2 separate regions of the Homo sapiens genome follow, and region 2 is linked to region 1. Evidence: promoter capture Hi-C in human tissues and cell types (Jung and others, 2019). All regions are on one chromosome and are shown on one strand. The core of a region is centred on a gene start or on the middle of the fragment in contact, and the rest is flanking DNA. Distances in the headings are between cores, read along the strand shown. Region 1 holds the start of TMEM163 (transmembrane protein 163). Region 2 has its middle 56 kb from the start of TMEM163.

Region 1 (5,334 bases), core at 1,188-3,687:
CGGCTAATTTTCTGTATTTTTAGTAGAGACGGGGTTTCACCATGTTAGCCAGGATGGTCTCGATCTCCTGACCTTGTGATCTGCCCACCTTGGCCTCCCAAAGTGCTGGGATTACAAGCGTGAGCCACCACGCCCAGCCAATTTTTTTTAAGCCCCCAGATGACTCTTAGAATGGGGAAGTGCCTTACAAAATACCCATGCCAAGGTCCCAGCCAAGAACGATCACGTTAAATATGATATCAGAATCTCTAGCAGTCGAAGCTTCGGTATTTTTGTTCTTAGACTCCCCAGGTGATACTTTGAGAGCCATTGACAGGGGGATTAAATGGGATAGACTGGAGGAAAAAAGTGGAGGAGATGACTCTGCAAATATATCTGAAGGATGTTCTACCTTAGAGGATAGAACCAGGATTAATGGGTAGAGATTTTCATTGTCTTTATCCAAGTAATCATAGCATTTTTCTTTTTCTTTGCAGCAGGAAGGGATCTTTGAAATGACGTAGTTCAACTCTTTCAATTTGTAGTTGAAGAAATTAGTGGTCAACAAGGTAAAGTAAGTTGGTCAAGGTCAACTCAGATCTTCTCATTCCAATCCAGCAACAACAATAATAACAGCAGCAACAAAATAAAGTAAGACCCCTCTCCCCATTTCTGGTGATATTTCCAGTGCACCACAAAGGCATTTAAATCCTACTCTCATTTCAATCACAAGCAAAGCAGACAAGAAAAAGGAAAAGGGTGACTCTTCAAGAAACGAGGAGGACTCCTTTAAATGAGGAATTGACATTTTGGAGTACCCGGATTAAATTCAGAGACTGAATCAATCTAAAGACGAAAGCCGGACTCTAGAGCTTGGATGTTGATACCATTGAAACGGTAGGGGCAGAAAAGGTGTGATACTTTCCTCCCCATCATAAGGGGCACGGCAAACATGCTTATAACAAAAGATAGGCTAATAAGAGAAAAGCGTAACAAATTTATTGAATCAAAGTTTTATGTGATACAGGAGCCTTCAGAAATGAAGATGCAAAGACTCAGGGAAAACTGCCTGTTTTTATGCTTAGATTCAGTGAAGAATGGACAGCCTTATAGAAATGTGATTGGACAAAGGGTGTGATCTAATGGTAATAGACTGAGGGTTGAACCCAGCGAGGCCTGTTCAGATTCTTCTTGGCCTCTCTGTGCAGCATGTATAGAGCAGGACCTCTTCTGGAATGAGGGTCTCAGGATCTACTATCAGACAAGGTAGGTCTGAGTATTTCTTCATGGCCAGCTCCTACACAGAAAGGCAGAGGACCAGGGAGGTTGGAGTACTATTTCTAGGTTGTATGACCACCGTAGGGAAGAGGAATTCTGGTTTCTGTGAACTGCTTAGTGGGGAGAAAGTCGGGGGGGAGACAGACTTTGTTTCTAAGGCGGCTTCAGAGGCCTGTTTAGTTTTTTAGTTCAAACTTAGCATACCAAAGTGCCATACGTTGGGGTATACTTTTCTGAGCCTCAACAAATCCAAGCTGAATTTATTAAACAGCAGGTCCTCTTTTGCTCCTCTCTGGGCATCAAGAGAGCTGGCGTGTGCCCTGCGGTGGACTCTCACTGGTGAGATCAGCCCCACCGCACAAAATGAATTAAGAGCTGCAGGGGTCAGAGTAGGGGAGACTTCTCGTAGAAGGGAGGCTTCCATGGATTTCTGAAGATCACACAAGACTTAGATGAGCAGGGGAGCGAACTGTATGGGACAAAGGCCCAGGAAGAGTCGAAATGGGGAAGCCTCGGAGTTCAAGCATCTTCTATAGCGCCCGCTGTCCTAAAGATACCCCATCCCTGGCTAAATGGGTGCTCCAGGGAGAAACTGGGAGGGGAGTTAAAGCTCCGAGAAGGACGGAGAGCGACGGGCTTGGGGACAGATGAACCCTTTTTCCCTGGATGAGCAGTGAGAATGGAGGCCCAGGCGAAGACCCTGTACAGCCTCTGAAGCCTGTGCAGCTCCAGAAGAGAAAGATGCCAAATTAGGGGCGCTGTCTGCTACCCACGCGCGGCCGCGGGCTTCGCGGACCCCAGAGGAATCCAGTGGGAGGGGTCCCCTCTGGGCACCATCCCGCGGCGCAGGTGGGGCGGGTCCCCGCTACGCCCTAGCCAAGCTCTGCCAGGGCCGCCTGTGGGTCCTCACGCTGGTTCCTCCCTCTCGTCCGCCTCGGTGCGCCGGCTCCCGCGCCCGGGCCTTGGGGCGGGTCCCTGCCGCCCGCACCTGCCCCCAGGGGCGGAGCGCGGCGGCAACAACGCGGCCCCAGCCTCCGCCACCGGCCGCGGAGCCGAGCGGCTCTCCGCTCGTCCCCGCCCCCGCCCGTGCACCTCCACTCCGCGGCGCCCGCCCGCCCTCCCTCCCTGTCCACGCGGCCAGTCCGTCCGCTCCTGCCCCCGCCAGAGCCGCGGCGCCTCGCACTTCTGACTCGAGTCCCCGCCGCGCTTGTCGTCGCCGCCGCCGGGATCCGCAGCCCCGCGCCATGGAGCCGGCCGCGGGCATCCAGCGCCGCAGCTCCCAGGGGCCCACCGTCCCGCCGCCGCCCCGGGGCCACGCGCCACCGGCTGCCGCCCCCGGCCCGGCCCCGCTGAGCTCCCCGGTGCGCGAGCCGCCCCAGCTGGAGGAGGAGCGGCAGGTGCGGATCAGCGAGAGCGGCCAGTTCAGCGACGGGCTGGAGGACCGAGGTGAGCGCGAGCTGCCCGACCCGGCCGGCGACCGGGGTGGCTGCTCGGGGCCCGCCTCTCCCCACTCGCGGGCCGCGCTGGGCGAGGCGCGGGGCTCGGAGCGCGCGGGGGCGCGGAGCCCCGACTTCCCGGCGAGAACGCCGCTAGCCGAGAGCGGCAGCCCCACCTTCTGCGGCCGGCACCGCCTCGGCTGCGGTTCCTTCCCTCGAAGCCCAGACCCCAGCTGCCTTCAGGCCGACCCCGCCTGGACTCGCGCCCTCCTCTCCGCCAGCTCCAGGCCCTCCGGCGCCCACGGGAAAAGTTTGCGGGAGGCATTTTTTGCGTTCGGAGTCGAGCGCTTCTGGGCCACTCCGGGCCCTACTCAGCTCGGAGGGACCCAGGCTCGTTGCATCCTCCTTTCCGTAGTCCCCTGCGGCTCCGCCGGCTGCCTGGGAGAACTTCCCTCTGCGGGTGTAGCCGCGAGATGTCCCTCGGCGGCCGCCCGGCTGCCCGCCCCGGCGAAGGGCGCAAGGAGGGGAGCGAGCCGGGACTCGGGCGGCCTCTGGTCTCGGGCAGTCCCCGATTCTAATCGCGGACGCGGGTCACAGTGGGTCCCTGCCCCGTCGTCTCATGATGGGGCAGAGGAATGGGACATTTGGATTTGGGCCACCAACCTCATCTGGATGGATGCCACTGAAACCTGATGTTTCCGGAGGGCGCGTCTGCAGACCCTTCAGAGCTCCCCTCCACTGACACTGGCCTGGAGGTCAGCACACTTGCCTCTGCTGGGAGACCACACTCTGCCTCCCACCGACTGCCGATGCCCCCTTGAGTCGCCAGTGTAGGACGGGAGAGACTCCCTGCTCGTTCCCGCGTCTCTCTTCTCCATCCCTTCCGCGTTTCCTTTGGGCTTGGATTCTTTGCAGAGGGAGCCCTGTTCTTGGCCGCGTCTGCACCTTTTCTACTTCTTGCTGAATCCGAATCCAAATTGTCCCCCTCAGAACGAATCTGTGGTTCTGCTAAAACCGTTTAGTGGCCAAAGAGGGATTCTTGCAGCCAGGCCCTTTAGGGGAAGCCGGCTCTTTTGCACCTCCACCCCCTTTTCTTGGAAGCCTTATTTTGTTGGCTATGGCGGGTTTATATATTTTAGACTTAGCAGGTTTCTGTCCTATTCTTAGTATCTCCTGTACATTTTTATTCCGGTTTAGTGTTCGGATGCACGATCTCTTTCTCCTTAGAAATTCTAAACTGTAGCATGTGAAATAAAATGACATGGAAACGGCAGTTCCCAGAGAATCCGCCTAGATGCTCAGCGAGAACTGGAGCTGCTCCAGTGGCAACGAATTCTGCACCTCTGTTGCAGTTTCTCCCCCTGTTCTCACATAACTAGATGCCATTTAAGAGGTGAGGACAGGGGACATCACGAGCATGGAACAAAACCTCTCACTTTTATTATAGGATGTGTTCATTACCTTTGCCCCTCTCCAGCTAATATCGTAGGATTTAAAAATTCCATATTGAAGAAAGACAGAAGCCTGGGTTGAGCTTATTTTTGTAGCATTGCAGGTCATCTCTAAGAGCTGGCCTGTTTCTCCCTACCCCACAAAATGATAGGAGGGAAGACAGTGCTAGGGTGAGTTCATATTTAGCATCATTTTGTAGTTCATGTTCAAGTGTAAAAAGCCCTTCTGAATTCATTCTTAAGGTTATTTTTCTCTGGTCAACGGAATTTCATTTTCCATTATATGATAGCATGAAAGCATTGACTGTTCGTAAACTGTCACTGTTTGAGAGCGTGGCATATCACACACAGCCTCTCTGTTAGGATGAACCCTATTCGCCAAAGAACCCGGTGCTGTGTGGCATTGAGAGCTGAACGTCAATGTGACATTCTTTTGTTTGACCTCTTCCTGATGGCAACCAGTATGTGGTGAATAAGTGATTTTTGTTAAGTAAACGAGAACGTTACCTGGGGAGGTTTACTGTAAGATTTTGTGTTTGTTGTTTCTGTTATTTTTTTTCTTATGGGGCTGCATTTTTCCAATATTGATTTTTATATCCTTTGGGAATGGGTTGAGTGCAGCTACCTCTTTCCTGCTGGTGAGAGGAATTGGGGAGGAGGAAGCCCCAGCACTTGCCTGCCGTGTGTCTCTGCATCCTGCCTGGCTTGCTTTCTTTCAGGCCTAAATACCTATAGGCTGTCTGTAGAGGGGTTGAGGGGTACCTCGGATCTGCACCTGTATTTGGCATTCTCTTTTGTCCTAACTCCCTTTGGAGCTATCAGGATGTGGTTCCAGACCACAGTTAACTCTCATCAAAGGTTTGCTTTAAAATCTAGTGTTTTGAGACTTTGGAGGCATTTGCGCCTTAGAAATGATGTGGGCTGGTTCTCAGAAACCTAGCTAGCTCAGAATGTCAGTAACTGCAGTGCCATCTGGTTGAACTTAAAGCTCAGGGAGCAAGAGCTCTGTGGCCTAAGACCTTTGGGGACTAAACACAAAAATTAGGCCAGGTTTATCTTAATCATTCTTCCCATCCCCTTTGAATACCTATTCTTCTCCCTACAAGTATTTTCCCATCATTCTGTCCGTAACCTTAGGGCCCAGCTTAGCCTTAGGTAATTATATGTGTCAGCATTTCCCAGTACTTCCC
Region 2 (5,334 bases), core at 752-3,251, 56 kb before region 1:
ATTAGGGGTAAATATAAGTGAATGGGGTCTTTTTAAAAATCGCACAGTAGACCGCTGCCATGGCCTTGCCTCCCATCTTTCTTTTCTACTGCAGTCTGTCCTCGATGCCCTTTAACAAAATATTTTTGTAATAAGTTCCTTCTGTGTTTAAAATCTTTTGAATTCCTATCACCTTCAGTATTAAGTTCAATATTCTCTGTGATCTGGGCACTGCGTGGAGCTTCAGCTTTCTCTGATGCTACCCCAACCACTCTATCCTGCACCCTCCCCACCCAGTGCATCCTATGCCCCACCTGCCAAAGAGCTTAATTCCCTGCAGACTCCCCGGGGACCCCACAGTCACAACAGCAATCCCTCACACATGCTGCCATCCCACTTGAATGCCTTTCATTCTGCTCCTCCACCCTGGCCACTTGGCTAATCCTGCAAGACTCAGATCAAGTGATCACACCCTGGAAGATCGCCCCTCAAGCCTTGATGTATTGTGATGTGTCTGATCCAAGCAGCCTGATGACCCTTTATCCTAGTATTTAGCAAGCTGTGTTTTAATTGTCTATCTCTAAAGTATTTTGTGCAGTCCACATATCTTAAATACCATTATTTCACCAACGAGAATGCATATCTAACCATGAATCACATTAATCAACAAGTCGCCAATTTCATCATTCAACAGCAATTTCTGACATTTACTGTCCTAATTGGCAAAGCATTGATGGAAATGCGATCAGAAGCATGTGTTGTGGCCTTTCTGATGTAAAGCCAACTGATCACCCCTAGAACACATATGTTTGATTAAGACAACTGACATGCTCAGAGATGACATTTGAACCATCTAGCACATATGTCTAGCACACCTGGTCTATGATGAAATGTTTAAAGCAATTTATAGACATAGGGACATGCTCTTCGAGATGTCAAGAACATCTGTTCCGAAAGCTCTCTCCTGCTGTTGCCAAAGTCCCTACTTCCGGAATGGACTTCTAGAACAGCTTTGGGCTAAATATGAACATAGGTCTTCTTGACCTCTGTGACACACTTCGTTACCTGGCCTTGAAGCAATATTGCAATAAAGTGACCACCAGCCCTTATCGTACCTTTGTGCAGATTAGAAAAATGCCCCTTCCTCCAGGTGGATGCAGCCAGTGCCAGGCATTTCAATTAGCAGGGAACGAGCTGGATTTGCATGCCTACTCGCCCCCTTGGCCAGGTGGCTTTGTGTGGAGTGGAGAAAAGTCCCTGGCTGTCCATGTATAGATTCCCATAAAAACCCTCAGAAAAAGAACTCCTTTAACTTTTTCCTTCAGCTCCTTGTCTTTTGCAAGCAATCCTCCAAGTGCATCCTCCCCTTCACAGCACACACGTACATACACCCTAGTGAAATGTGAAAAGGCAACCACTCATCCCCACAGGAACAAACAATCATCCAGGCAAATGCTAGTCTCAGTTCGTAGACAGCCAAGAAAGATTGTGCTTCCTCTCTCTTGCTGTGCCCCTCATTTCCCCTGCTCCCTTGAAAAACAAAGTAGAAGCTTCAGAGAAAAACAATCTAGTCTTGTGACTATGTATATAATTAAAATACAGCATTAAAAATCGACTTCAAGTCGATGGGACCATGTATCACTTAGGATGCTTTTGGTGGGAACGAACAGAAAACCCATCTCAAAATGGCTACAACTATAGGGGAATGTATTATGTCACTGTATAGGAGAATGTATTATTTCACTCTATAGGGGAATGTATTGTCTCACTCAGCAAGAAGTCCTGAGGTAGAGCAGCTGCAGGGCCAATTAGTCCAGCAGCTCAAACAACATTCTCTAAAGCCCAGGTTCTTTTCACCTTTTCCCTTTGTTATCTTCACATATCAGCTTAGCTCACTCTCAGTTACGAAGTGGTTGCCCTTGTTCCTGGCTTCACATACAGACATGGGCGTGTCCAGCAGAATAATAGGAGCTTTTTGTTTAATGTGCTTTTTGGTTCCCCACTCCCCAGGGAACTAAAGATTTCCCTTCTAGTTCTTAGCCAGAACTCTGTTCCATGCCCACACCCAAATGAATCACCTCCAGGGAAATGGGATTGCCAGGCCTGGTTTAGGCACTGCCACCATTCACCCCTGGAGCTGGGATGAGGAAGGAGGGTTTTTGTCGGGGTGCTCAAGGAAGTGAGTCAAGTTCAGGGCGGCTGGAGGGAGCATACATCCCTCTGGATGCCCTGGCCTGTCATGCTGTGGTGAGGAGTTGGCCTTTATCCTGCCTGTCACATGGAGGCATTTAGTATCTGTTTGTAGAAATAATCTTGAAACTACAATCTTTAAGTAAAAATTGTCTTCCATTCACACACTGCTCTCCGCTGTGTCTCTTCTGAAGAAGCCTAAGTGGAAAAGGATAAGATCACTTATCTTGTGCTTTCGCGTTTCCTGTGGGGAGGACTCCCCCTTCGAAGTGTCAGGAGATTATCTGATGAAGCTGTTTATAAAAGCAGGGCTCAGGCACTCCTCTGGGACCCACATGCACGTTCTTCCACAGGCCACACCTGGGCCCAGCAATGGTTCTAATCCAAGAGGGCCTCATCGCATGGGGCTGGGACATCTGTGCCATCCCCAGGCCCCAGCAGGCCTTCCTCCTCATTAAATGTTTCTGTTGAGGCAGTTTTGGGAAGCATCTACCTTTTTCCCCAAAGAGAGTTACTCACATTTTCCCGAATTAAACTTCTCACCCCAGGTAATTTTTATTTTGAACCCTCTTTAGGCCCTGAATTGTGACTTTTAGTCTCTGAACTTCATATCAGGTTCTATTTTAGTAAGCACTGCAAATGTCAAGGTAATGACATGTGATTCCTTTTTGGGAACACTGTGGAAGATGCTAATGGAGAAGTGTGTCACCAGATGACCTCCTGAGGTCCCCAGAAGAAACATATATAGAGAGGGAATCCACTTCCACCGGACTGGCCTCTGTGAATAGGGAAGGGAAGTCATGTTTGCTGTGACTGTACTCTAGGCCAGGGGCTTTGCAGCCATTTAGTCTGCCTAAGAGACCTGACGTGGGCATTACCATTTCCATTGTTCAGACATGGAAACTGAGTCTGAAAGAAGTTAAAGAACTTGCTCAAGGGGGAATTTGAGCCCAAATGTGCTGCCTCTAAAATCCGTGCTTTTATCAATGCATCATGCTGGGCTCTGGCAGGAGTGAGTAAGGCTGAGTGTGCTGAATTCATTGTGATAAGAGGCGCTGACCTCCATGGAAAGGAAAACCCTGAGCCTGGGGCCCCTGGGGTCATGTCACACTTTCACTTTGTCCTGGCCAGAGCATGTGGGATGATGAGGCAGGAAAGTGGGAAAGGTGTGTGGCTGGGGAGGGTCGCAGCAGATCTTGCCCCACACCCCTCCTCCATTTGTGAATCAGTATTTAGAGCAGTTGCTCCCTGGGGACTTTCACTTTGGGCCTCACATTAAGGGGGAAAAAAAAGAGCAGGCTAAAGACAGGCAGGGCATGAGTTCTGAGCCTCGTGCCAGGTCAGAAACAGAAAGGTGACAGCTTCCCTCTGAATGAGATGTTCTGGGAGCCAAGAAGACAAAATGAATTCCTGAGATTTATTTTTTTCCCCATTTTGTCTGAAACAGTTTTCTGTTTCCACTGTGAAACCACTCCTGAATAACCTTCCCTGAACCTCACAGTTTGGATAAGGAAACAAATTTCCTGCTGCCACGGCAACAGCCTCTCACTTACCCAACTGCGGAGTGGGGGGAAGCCCAGGGCGGTAAGGTCTGTGATGCACCAGACAGTCACACCAGCGAAAGGCCCATTTACCGGTGTATTCACCAGGTGCCAGGGACCCACGTCAGAAACCCAGGCTCCCTTATCTGCTCAACAGATGGCAGAGCCACATGGCCACATGGCCCAGGGCAGGGCACTGAGAATTCTTATGCAAAACCAAGCCTCCTTGGGCAGGAAGCCTGCACTGGGGATAGTGATGGATGGTAATTCTCCACTCTTTCTCCCGGCCAGCCTCCCATTGGGGCTGCCTGTTTCCCTTCTCACATTCTTTTATAAAATAAAAAAGTCAAATCAACTCATACTTTTTGGGCAGGACACTGTGTGACATACAAAATATATACTGTACACTGGCGAGAGTCTGAAAGAAAATATGTCAAATGGTTAAGAGCAATTATTTGTGATTAATGAGATTATAAATAATTTTTATTTTTGATGTTTATTATGTTTTCTTAGAAAGTCTCTAAGTTGAACATGAAATACTTTCCTACTAAAAAAGGAAAACAGAAATTAATTCTTTTACAAACAGAACAAAACAAAAACTAACAAATACAGTCAGTTCTCTCCTCACGTCTTCAGTGTAGAAGGGCAAGTGTAAGTAGATCTGGGCCCAAGCTGTGGCTTCACCAACCCATGGCCCATTGTTCTGTCAGAGGCGTTTGAATCGCAGCACCTCTATCTTGAATAAGGGCTGGGTAAAATGAGACTGATACCTGCTGGGCTGCATTCCCAGGACGTTAGGCATTCTTAATCTCAGAATGAGCTAAGAGGTTGGTAGGTCTGGTATCACAAGATACAGGCTATAAAGCCCCTGCTGATAAAACTGGATGCAGTAAAGAAGCTGGCCAAAACCCACCAAATCCAAGATGGCCATGAAAGCAACGTCATCACTGCTCATTATACACTAATTATAATGCAGTAGCATGCTAAAAAACTCCCACCAGCGCCATGACAGTTTACGGATGCCATGGCAACGCCTGAAGTTACCTTATATAGTCTAAAAGAGGGAGGACCCTCAGTTGGGGAGGCAATCCCCACCCCTTTCCCAAAAAACTCATGAAAGATCCACCCCTTGCTTAGCATATACTCAAGAAATAGCCATAAAAATAGCCAACCAGCAACCCTCAGGGCTGCTCTATGGGGTAGCCTCTCTGTTGTTTCTTCTCTAATCCACCTGCTTTCACTTTACTCTATGGACTCACTCTGAGTTCTTTCTTGCAGGAGATCCAAGAACCATCTCTTGAGGGTCTGGATTGGGACCCCTTTCTGGTAGCAGTTCAGTCTCATGCTTTTCAGTGCCATTTCTCTGACTCCTGATTTTCATCTCCAATCAGACCGCTCCTCTGAACTCAAGATTTGGATTTATGGCTACCCATGTATCATCTCCACTTGGAAGCCTGATTCTCAAACTTAACATGTCCAAAACTAAATTCCTAATCTTTGTCTCCTGGCCCCCAGCCCCTCCCAAATCTGCTTCTTTTGAAGCTCTTCCGCTTCTCCAGTTGTAGCAGTGCCATCTTTCCAACTGCTCAGACCAAAACCCTTAGAGTCATCCCTGACTTATCAC

Evidence for each region. The method cuts DNA at HindIII sites, captures the fragments that hold promoters and counts their contacts. A contact is called where the count stands out against the background at its distance.
Region 2: a contact is called between a fragment that was not itself captured here and the fragment with the promoter of TMEM163 in region 1, in 1 of the 25 tissues and cell types used here (IMR-90 fibroblasts).

Annotation. Positions count from the first base shown.
Region 1 is chr2:134,716,103-134,721,436 of GRCh38, reverse strand. TMEM163 (transmembrane protein 163) reads left to right here and starts at 2,437. Exons shown (of 8, transcript NM_030923.5): 1 at 2,437-2,703. The coding sequence starts at 2,502. LOC105373629 (a long non-coding RNA gene) reads right to left here and starts at 3,325. Exons shown (of 2, transcript XR_923354.4): 1 at 2,870-3,325. RefSeq lists an enhancer at 1-411 and a silencer at 2,114-2,353. The HindIII fragment of the contact is 12,733 bases long and covers 1-5,334 here.
Region 2 is chr2:134,772,069-134,777,402 of GRCh38, reverse strand. No RefSeq gene overlaps it. Among named protein-coding and RNA genes, the nearest start is that of TMEM163, 56 kb to the right of the region's middle. The HindIII fragment of the contact is 3,113 bases long and covers 445-3,557 here.